Regions from separate parts of the Homo sapiens genome. Here regions 1 and 3 are each linked to region 2. The links are contacts of gene promoters, found by promoter capture Hi-C in human tissues and cell types (Jung and others, 2019). All regions are on one chromosome and are shown on one strand. The core of a region is centred on a gene start or on the middle of the fragment in contact, and the rest is flanking DNA. Distances in the headings are between cores, read along the strand shown.

What was found. Contacts are between HindIII fragments. The study calls those that stand out against the background at their distance.
Region 1: a contact is called between a fragment that was not itself captured here and the fragment with the promoter of CABLES1 in region 2, in 5 of the 25 tissues and cell types used here (lymphoblastoid cells, mesenchymal stem cells, neural progenitor cells and 2 more).
Region 3: a contact is called between a fragment that was not itself captured here and the fragment with the promoter of CABLES1 in region 2, in 2 of the 25 tissues and cell types used here (aorta and lymphoblastoid cells).

Annotation. Positions count from the first base shown.
Region 1 is chr18:23,089,072-23,092,739 of GRCh38, reverse strand. No RefSeq gene overlaps it. Among named protein-coding and RNA genes, the nearest start is that of CABLES1, 45 kb to the left of the region's middle. The HindIII fragment of the contact is 7,157 bases long and covers 1-3,668 here.
Region 2 is chr18:23,133,821-23,136,982 of GRCh38, reverse strand. It overlaps CABLES1 (Cdk5 and Abl enzyme substrate 1), which reads right to left and starts at 1,498. Exons shown (of 10, transcript NM_001100619.3): 1 at 376-1,498. The coding sequence starts at 1,220. RefSeq lists silencers at 630-879, 980-1,189, 1,320-1,529, 1,650-1,729, 2,490-2,599 and 3 more and an enhancer at 2,150-2,299. The HindIII fragment of the contact is 17,284 bases long and covers 1-3,162 here.
Region 3 is chr18:23,177,379-23,180,858 of GRCh38, reverse strand. The region is part of intron 1 of CABLES1 (Cdk5 and Abl enzyme substrate 1); the gene reads right to left. Among named protein-coding and RNA genes, the nearest start is that of CABLES1, 44 kb to the right of the region's middle. RefSeq lists a silencer at 173-222. The HindIII fragment of the contact is 3,734 bases long and covers 249-3,480 here.

The DNA.
Region 1 (3,668 bases), core at 928-3,427, 45 kb after region 2:
GTCTCAAACTCCTAACCTCAGGCGACCCACCCACCTCGGCCTCCCAAAGTGCTGGGATCACAAGTGTGAGCCACCGTGCCCAGCCAACATAACAGGGATTTCTAAGTGTGATGGTTAATTTTAGGTGTCAACTTGAATGAATTGAGAAATATCTAGAGAGGTGGTAAACCATCATTTTGGATGTGTTGGTGAGGTGTTTCCAGAGGAGACTGGATTGTGATTTGGTGAACTGAGCAGGGAAGATCTGCTCTCAGTGTGGGCAGGCAACGTTCAATCGACTGGTGGACCACAGAGAATAGAAAGACAGAGGGAAGGCAGAGTCTCATGCTCTCTCCTGGAGCTGGGACGGCCTTCTCCTCTTGCCCTTGGACAGCAGGACTCCAGGCTCCCTGGCCTTTGGACTCCGGGACTTACACCAGCATCCTCCTCCACCAGCCCCGAGTTCGCAGGGCTTTGGCCACGGACTGAGAGTTATACCATTGGCTTCCCCAGTTCTGAGGCTTCGAACTTGGGCAAAGCCACACTACCATCATCCCCGGGTCTCCAGCTTCCAGATGGCCTGTCATGGGACTTCTCAGCTTCCATAATCACATGAGCCAATTCCCCTCATAAATCCCCTCTCATGTCTCTATATATCCTATTGGATCCATCTATCTGGAGAACACTGACTCATCTAAAGCATCTTAAAAATAAGAATATATATATATATATATATATTTTAAAAAGGAATATATATGTGTACACACACACACACACACACACACACACACACACACATATATATATATTTTTTTTTTTTTTTGAGACAGGATCTTGCTCTGCCACCCAGGCTGGAGTGCAGTGGCGCCATTATGGCTCACTGCAGCCTTGACCTCCTGGGCTCAAGCAATACCCCTGCCTTGGCCTCCTGAGTAGCTGGGACTACAGGCACGTGCCACCAAAACTGGCTAAAAATATACACATATTCTTAAAAATGATTATTCAGCCATGACTTGCAATTTATAAAGAACAAGAACAAAGCTTATCTTTAAAATAATCATTTTATTAATCGTCCATTGCCACTCCTTTGGTCAGAGTTTCTCTAGGTGGTAGCTGCTTTTCTCACTCCTATTCTTTAATATAGCAAAAGAAGAAGCCTTCAAATGAAGTTAATATGAAACCAGAGACAGTGAAGAGAGAGAACCAGAGGTTGAGAAGAGGAAATACCAGCTTCTTTCGGGATGATGTTACTTCCTTTTTCAAGACAAAAAAAAAAAAAACAGTCTTTTCATGTTGGATTGTCAAGGCATAAATTGTAGTGTGGTTCCTAAATGTCTGACAATAGGGAAATCATTTAATAAATTATAGTACTGTCAAACAATGAAGTATCATGAGCCAATTAAAATGAATTTTTTAGGTTGGGTGCAGTGGCTCACGCCTGTAATCCCAGCACTTTGACAGGCTGAGGCAGGTGGATTGCTTGAGGTCAGGAGTTTGAGTCCAGCCTGGCCAACATGGTGAAACTCCGTCTCTACTAAAAATACAAAAGTTAGCTGGGTGTGGTGGTGCGTGCTTGTAATCCCAGCTACTCAAGAGGCTGAGGCAGGAGACTCTTTAACCTGGGAGGCGGAGGTTGCAGTGAGCTGAGATGGCACCAGGGCTCTCCAGCCTGGGCAACAGAGACTCTGTCTCAAAATAATAATAATAGTAATAATAATAATAAGTTTTTAATGGGCAACATTTTAGTGTGGAGAAATCCATAAGATAAAGTGATAAATGATAAAAATCAGAATATAAAACTATGTGTGATATGATTACAAGGTTGTTTTATACACACACACAAGATAGGCATTGCAGTATTAACAGAGGTTATCATCAGATGTTGAAGTTATGGCTTTAAAAACATGAATTATTATACTTTTTATTTTCCAAATATTTATATGGGCATTTATTATTTTTATAATAAAAGTTGGATATAAAATAATAAAGGGTTTTCATATTGTGGTTGAACTGTAAATGAGAGTTACTGAAGATTAGAGTTTCCAAAAATAAACATGTGGTTTTAATAGTCCTGTCTCATTGTGAATAGAAATACAATTTTTCGGCCGGGCGCGGTGGCTCACGCCTGGAATCCCAACACACTGGGAGGCTGAGGTGGGTGGATCACGAGGTCAGGAGTTCAAGACCAGTCCGGCCAACATGGTGAAAACCCGTCTCTACTAAAAATACAAAAATTAGCCGGTCGTTGTGGTGCGTGCCTATAATCCCAGCTACTTGGGAAGCTGAGACAGGAGAATTTCTTGAACCCGGGAGGGGGAGGTTGCAGTGAGCTGAGATCATGCCACTGCACTCCAGCTTGGGTGACAGAGCAAGACTCCGTCTTGGAAAAAAAAGAAGAAGAAGAAATACAGATTTTCTATGTTGTTTTCCCTTATCCTAGGTGCTTTTTAGCAGATTCCTATTGCACTAAGTGGTTCAGATCTTCTTAGCATGTACAGAATTTTTCAGGAGTTAGTGTTAAATGTTTTGGGCAAATGACTTTCAGACAACTGGGGCTCAGCCTAGCAAAGGAATCCTGCAGTACACTAAGAGTTTCCTTCTAATTTAAAGGAGATTCTTCTTTCTTTCTTTCTTTCTTTCTTTCTTTCTTTCTTTCTTTCTTTCTTTCTTTCTCTTTCTTTCTTTCCTTTCTTTCTTTCTCTTTCTTTCTTTCTTTCTTTCTTTCTTTCTTTCTTTCTTTCCTTCCTTCCTTCCTTCTTTCCTTCCTTCTTTCTTCCTTTCTTTCTTTCTCTTTCTTTCTTTCTTTCTCTTTCTTTCTTTCTTTCTTTCTTTCTTTCTTTCTTTCTTTCCTTCCTTCCTTCCTTCCTTCCTTCCTTCCTTCCTTCTTTCCTTCCTTCTTTCTTCCTTTCTTTCTTTCTCTTTCTTTCTTTCTTTCTCTTTCTTTCTTTCTTTCTTTCCTTCCTTCCTTCCTTCCTTCCTTCCTTCCTTCCTTCTTTCCTTCCTTCTTTCTTCCTTTCTTTCTTTCTTTCTTTCAGACAGAGTCTCGCTCTGTCGCCAGGCTGGAGTGCAGCGGCGCAATCTCGGCTCACTGCACGCTCCGTCTCCCAGGTTCAAGTGATTGTGCTCCCTCAGCCTCCCAAGTAGCTGGGACTACAGGCGCCCGCCACCACGCCCAGTTAATTTTTGTATTTTTAGTAGAGATGGGGTTTCACCATGTTGGCCAGGATGGTCTTGATCTCTTGATCTCGTGATCCACCTGGCTTGGCCTCCCAGAGTGCTGGGATTACAGGCGTGAGCTACTGTGCCCGGCCCCCCACCAACTCTTTTTTTTTTTTTTGAGATGGAGTTTTGCTCTCGTGTTCCATGCTGGAGTGCAGTGCCGTGATCTCGGCTCACTGCAACCTCTGCCTCCCAGGTTCAATCAATTCTCCTGTCTCAGCCTCCCAAGTAGCTGGGATTACCAGCATGCACCACGCATAGCTAATTTTGTATTTTTAGTAGAGACCGGTTTTCACCATGTTGGCCAGGCTGGTATCAAACTTCTGACCTCAGGTGATATGCCCGCCTCAGCCTTCCAAAGTATTGGGATTATAGGCGTGAGCCACCATGGCCGGCCAATTTCAATTTGTCGACTTGAAGTGTCTGCTAAACATAAGACTCAAACCAAGAAAATCCCCTAGGGAATAAAT
Region 2 (3,162 bases), core at 249-2,748:
CGAGTCTCGCCCCACGCGGGGAAGAGTGCGCCTCCGGGTCTGGACCGGGTTTCAGGAAGTTTGTGATCTCGTGTGGGGAGGCTCGGACGCCGCTTTCTACTGGGCTCCTGCAACTCCCAATTCCCGACCCACTGCACAAGCGCGGTGCTCCTCTGCGAATGCTGGGCTCGTGCAAACACGTGTAACCCCGCACTCCCTGGGGACGCCCCCTCTTTTGGGTGCCCTCGTGGTTTGGGATTCGGGCCCGGAGCACAGGATCCGGCAGGGCGCGGGAAAATGGGAGCAACCCGTGTCCCGTAGCCCAGAGACCGCGGGGAGGCTGGGAGCGCCGGGCGGGACGCAGGGTTGGGTGCGCGTCGCATCCCGGATACTCACCGGGACCTCTGCAGCTGCTCGAAGGCGCTGGTGCTGCCGCCCTGGCCTGGCTGCTCCAGGGAGCAGTAGTTCTGCGAAGTCGGCCTGGAGAAGGCGATGGGCAGGATTCCCTGAGTGAACGAGTTGAGGCGTCCCCGACTGCCGCTCCCACTCCCGGGGGTCCCGGAGCCCAAAAAGGCGGCCGCCGGCACCTGCACGCTGATAAAGGCATCGTCCTCCTCCAACTCCTCCTGCCCGGCGGCCCCGGACCCGTCGAGCAGCTGCAGTTGGGCACAGGCGGCGAGAGGCGCCGGCCGGGGCGGCTGCCACTGCTCCCCCGACGCCCGGCCGGCGCCCAGGGGACTCGCGAACCCCCGCGCCACCCCGGGGCCGGACACGGTCGCATGGCCGCCAGGAATCAAGGGCGGCAGCGACGAGGGCTGTGGGAGGCAGGGGCCGGACCCAGCGGCTAACCCCGCAGCCGGCGTGCCCGGCGCGGCGAGCGCGATGCAGCCGCCCCGCTCGGCAGCGGCGAGCAAGCTGAACCGAGTCCTCGCGCCGCAGGCGCCGCCGGCGCCCGGCTTGGCCGCGCCGCCCTCCTCGCCACCGCCCCACTCCGCGTCCTGCGGCGGCAGCCGGCCGTCCAGCGAGATGTTGGTGAGGAAGGAGAGGGCAGCCTGGCGGCGCCGCGGGTCCATGCGCGGCTTCCGGGGGGGTTCGGGCGGCGGCTGGGCCGGCGCGGCGGCCGCGGGCTGAGGCTGGGGCTGCGGCGGCGGCTGCTGCAATCCGCTGGCGCCCGCGGCGTCGGTGCCGGCGCTGCCGCTGCTGCAGGCGGCCGTGGTGGCGGCCGCCGCCGCCGCCGCCATTGTGTCCGTCTGCGGCGGGATTTCCGCGATGCCCGGAGAAGCGAGCGGCGCCCGAGCGCTAAGCGGCGGGCGCGAGCGGCGGCGACCCGGGCTGGGTAGGGCGCGGGGATCGGGCGGCGTGCGCGGCGGTCCAGCCCCCCCGCGGGCGGGCCATGCTCGCCCCTCGGTGCTGGGGATGGGGGCGCCGCCGCCCCGGCCCACGCGCACGCCTCGCTACCTAGCTCGGCTAGTTCGGCTCGCTGGCTGGCCGCCCGCCGGTCGCCTGGCCGCTGGCTCGCGGGCTCCGGGGCCGGGTGTCCGTATTTATAGGTGCGCGCGCCCCGCGCTCGCGCTCCAAAGCCCTCTTTGCAATAACACGGAATCACGTGTGGGGAATGCGACCTGGGAGGAAAACAAAGCCGCAGGCGGCGGCCGCAGAGGCAGACGGCGGGAGGCAAGGGGCCACGGGAGGAGGAAGAGGAGGACGCGAGAGCCGAGCGGGTGGTGGGGCGGGGGATCGGCCCGGCTGTCCGGGTTGTCGGAGCTGCCTGCTGGGAGAGTTGGCGACTCCCGGGGCCGCGGAAGCCAGGTGCGGGAGGCGAGCACGTTTCCCCCGCGCGCTCGCACTGGGAATTGGGTGAGCGAGCAGAACCCGGTGGGTTAGGTCCTGGGGCTGTGCTCCTGGGAGAGTTGTGGGTCTACAGGACGGTTATGTGGAGCGTTGCAGAGTTTTGGACTGCGAGCGAGTTACTTGGACCCCGCAAGGCCGTTGGTCCCCGAGAAGTAAATAGATCCTTTTCATAATAACACGGGTAAGTCCACAGCCCCTATGGAGACTGTCCCACCGTAAAGCTATCGCTAACAACCATTGCAGTTGGGTCTATTCATTCCCAGGCCAAGGATGCAGCCCCCGGGATAAATGCACGCCTTGGGATGCATAAGAGCCCAGAAGCACGAACATCTTACATGTGGCCAACGAACTCACGCATCCCCAATCCATGGTATTGTCACTTTTCATCTCTCTCTTAGCAAAGGACAACGCAAATTTTTTACTTTGGCTCTGAAATGTGCTCCATTTTCTGTGAAGACCCAGGTGGGCTAAAATGACCTTACACTCTTTTCCCCTGGTCACCTTGCAAATTTTTGTAGATTATGATCTCTTCTCCCTCATAAACTGGGACCAATGTGGACAGTTACCCTGTCGTTTATCTCATAAGCACGTTTGGCACCTACCATGTCTTCTATAAATACGGGTTCCTGACGGCCCTCCCAGAGCAGTAGCTCTGAATCTGGGAGGAGTCGCAGTCCCCACCCACAACGAATGCTTGTTTTGGTTGGGGGTGGGGGCGGGGGCGGGGACAGGGTGGAGGAGTTCACCTGGAGGGATCTGAAAACGTGTGCGGGTTTCCCCAGGCGGTATGGGCAACTTAACAAATGCAGTAAGGAACAATTGCCACACTGAATTAAGCTCTGTGACACCTAAGAAACCTGCTGCACTTTTGAGGGAGAAGCAATGTGTTTCAGATCAACGGATTAATTTAATTAAAGGTTTAAATTTAGCCCTGGAGCTAATGGGTAACTCTACATTGAAATTCCACTCCATTTCAAGTTCAGGAAAGTAAATTGAGTAATGGAGAGCAAATACACCGTCCAGAGAGGTGCCGCCAACCCGGAGTGCCAGACAGAGAGGGTTTCAGGTTACATTTGCTCAGGACAGAGATGGCACGTGGCCCTTTACATGAACAATCGTTGTTATATTTTATTTTGTGCTGTTTTTAGGCCTTTTGAAAACATGGAGCCTGGTGTCTGTTTACAGCAGCCTCATGTCAGTGGAGTCAAAGCTCAATGGCCAGCTCTGTGAAATTTCACCAGGATTTTAATTATTTTGGCTAACTACCTTGAAACTTCCAAGCCCTTTTATGACAATTGACTTAATTTACATGACCACTGGCCTGGTTGGGAG
Region 3 (3,480 bases), core at 866-3,365, 43 kb before region 2:
CATCCCTCCATCCCCCCACCACAGACATAATCTTTTGCTCTTGAAATGGTGTTCAGCTCATGCAGAAAAGGTGTCCTAAAAAGTAGGGTACAAATCTGTAGTTTGTAACTGTTTGACTATGGAAGCCTACTACTTAAAGGAGCCCTAAAATGAAAAACTATATATAAACCCAAGAATTAAAATCAGCTGCGCTTAGTGGCATGCACCGGCAGTCTCAGCTACTCAGGAGGCTGAGGCACGCTTGAACACAGGAAGTCGAGGTTGCAATGAGTTATGATCGCATTACTGCACTCTAGCCTGGGTGACAGAGTGAGACCCTGTCTCTACAAATAAATAAGTAAACACATAAGCCCAAGAATTGTACTATCATGTGTATGTCATTTGTGAAATGCTGGTTTTCAAATACTAGGCTCTCTTAAAGGAAAATGCCCCTCCATCACCCTATTGTTATTTCCTTCATTTCCCTAGCAGCATCTTAAGCTGTTGACTGCCACAGCACCATCAGCCTGCTCCTCACATTCATCAGATAAGTGATGATAACATTGTTCGTGAGTTGGCAAACTTCAATGCCAAGATTCCAGATGCTCCTCCAGCAGAAGTCCAATCAGACTGCGCTCACTTAAAAAAAACAAACTGTTGGCCAGGCGCGGTGGCTCATGCCTGTAATCCTAGCACTTTGGGAGGCTGAGGCGGGTGGATCACGAGGTCAGGAGATCGAGACCATCCTGGCTAACACGGCGAAACCCAGTCTCTACTAAAAATTAAAAAAAAAATTAGCCGGGCGTGGTGGCGGGCGCCTGTAGTCCCAGCTACTCAGAAGGCTGAGGCAGGAGAATGGCCTGAACCCGGGAGGCGGAGCTTGCAGTGAGCCAAGATTGCGCCACTGCACTCCAGCCTGGGCAACAGAGCGAGACTCCGTCTCAAAAAACAAAAAACAAAAATAAAAACAAAAACAAAACAAAACTGTTTCACCCTAGTACACGTGTTCACAGATGAAGAAAAAAAAGTCAGCTGCTACCTCTTAACAGAAGATACACAGACCCTTAAAGCAAAACGGCCTTCCCTTCAGCCTGAGGACACATCCATTAGACACATGCTTTGTTTTGTTGTCCACGGATCTAAAGCTTTGTCCAGCAGCAAAAGTGCCGATGAAAGTAAGCATGGCCCTTACTGCTCACCTGGCAGCAGCTGCTTGTTAGACCCTGGAGGAACTCCAAGAGGAGAGCCACAGAGTCTGACACTACAGTGGCATACTGGCCGGGCCAGGTCACCAGGCTGGGGTGACTGGAGGAGCATTTGGTCTTGACCAGTCAGCCTGATGCCATCCATACCTCTGAGCACTGGGCACACAGCTGGCTTGGAAGGAAAACCTCCTCCCCGAGCCTCAACTAACACGCTGAAAGCCAGATCCATATCCAGAATACAGACCAAAGGAATTCAAAATCCCTGGGGTGGGGGAGTCACTGGGATTTTTCTTGTAAAGGAAGGAAGACAGGATTATCTTTAAGAAAAGGAGGGATGGTTAGATTTTTTTAAATTAGACACAATGGGAAGAAACCGTTTTTTCTTTATTTTTTTAGACGGAGTCTCTGTCTCCCAGGGTGGAGTGCAGTGGCGCGATCTCGGCTCACTGCAACCTCTGCTTCCTGGGTTCAAGCGATTCTCCTGCCTCAGCCCCCTGAGTAGCTGGGATTACAGGGACCCGCCACAATACCCGACTAATTTTTGTATTTTTAGTAGAGACAGGGTTTCACCGTGTTGGCCAGGCTGGTCTCGAACTCCTGGCTTCAGGCAATTGGCCCGCCTCGGCCTCCCAAAGTGTTGGGATTACTGGTGTGAGCCACCACGCCCGGCCAAGAAACTGGTTTTGAATCTGGCTATGTTTTAAAGTCTCCAGCTGATGAATCAGGCAAAAACCAAATTAAAATCAATACACTAGAGTTGCCAATCAGCTTGTTCAAATAAGGTCTGTTTCTACATTTTCATAGGCGGGTCAAGAAAGCGACTCTCTAAATGTTTACAGAGAATACAAAAGGCTCTTGGCTTGCCTGAGTTTACTTTTGTTTCAAGGGCTCTCATCAGACTTGCCAAATCCTGAAAAATCAAGGTGTGAGGTTATCTTGGTATATGGGGCTATTTAGAGCTGACAGGAACTGCTGCTAGGATTTAATAGCTGGCCAGAAATTCATCCCCAAAGATCTCCCAGTCTACCCTGCCCACTGCTGTCCTGCTAATCTTGAAAAACACTCTTTCCCTCATGTCAGTCCCTACTTGAAGATCCAGTGATACCCCCTGGGAACAAGTTCAAACTCTTTTGACAAAGGGTCTAGAGGGAAGGTCAGAACACAGCAGCAGACACAGCACACCTGGCCGCCATGAAGGTACATGCCCAGGGTCCCTGGACAGCCTTAGGGTATCAGGACATCAGGCGGCCAGCCCAGGGTCCCTGGACAGCCTTAGGGTATCAGGACATCAGGCGGCCAGCCCAGGGTCGCTGGCTCAGTGGCAGTGCTGCATTCTAATTCATACTTGGCCTCGTCCCAGAGGGAGGGGCCCTGCCCTGCTGCTGTAGGGGCACACAATGGAATACGCAGAAGGGTAGAACCAGGAGAAGCAGGTACTGGGTACTGGTTGAAAAAAAAAAATCAGGATCCGAAAAGGTTTTGTGTGGCTGATGAGATAAACCGCTTTGATCTTGCTACAGAACACATTGGATACTCATGGAGGGGGTGGGGAAGAAAAGTGGGGGCCCAGCCAGGACAGGATATGGGTGGGAAGGGAATATTGGAAAGGGAAAACCACTAGAAATAAAAGGGCCAGCTTCACCCTAGACAGAAATGCGCCCTATGCATCTAAGTCCAAGGAGTTTGCGGCCAACTTACCTATGTTCTGAATGGGCGTCAGGCTCCAAGGAATCAAATCCAGGCGTTCTCTGCAAAGGGCTTCCCTGAGCCGGGCAAGGAGGGTGGCTGGGAATGCAGCACCTGGTCCCATGGTTTAAGGATACTGTGGAGTGTGTCCACACCTGGAGGCCAAACCAGGTGTGGAGTACATGGGGGAGCCAGGGAGAGCCAAGGTTTTAATTGGGAGAGGAGAAGAGAGTACCTCTAACAGAGGGAGCAGGCAGGCCATGGCAGGGGGCCTGAGGGGCTTCCTACATGCACCTTCCCAGAGCCCAACAGGACAGGACAGAACTGGGACTCGGTGAGGCATAGGAAGAATTCCTCCCAGCAAAGTCCGGCCCCAGGAAAAGAGCCCAGCGGGAACCAGGAGACAGACAGGCTCGCAATCAGAGGGCCAGGCTTGGCTCCAGGAGGACCCGGACAGAGACCCCAACAGCCAAGTGGACAAGCTGACCACACATAGACCGGCGGGGCTGGGGCTGGTATCACAGCACAATGAACGTGTGTGTGTGTGTGTGTGTGTGTGTGTGTGTGTGTACACATGTGCTCACACATAGCACCTTTCAGTCTCACACCC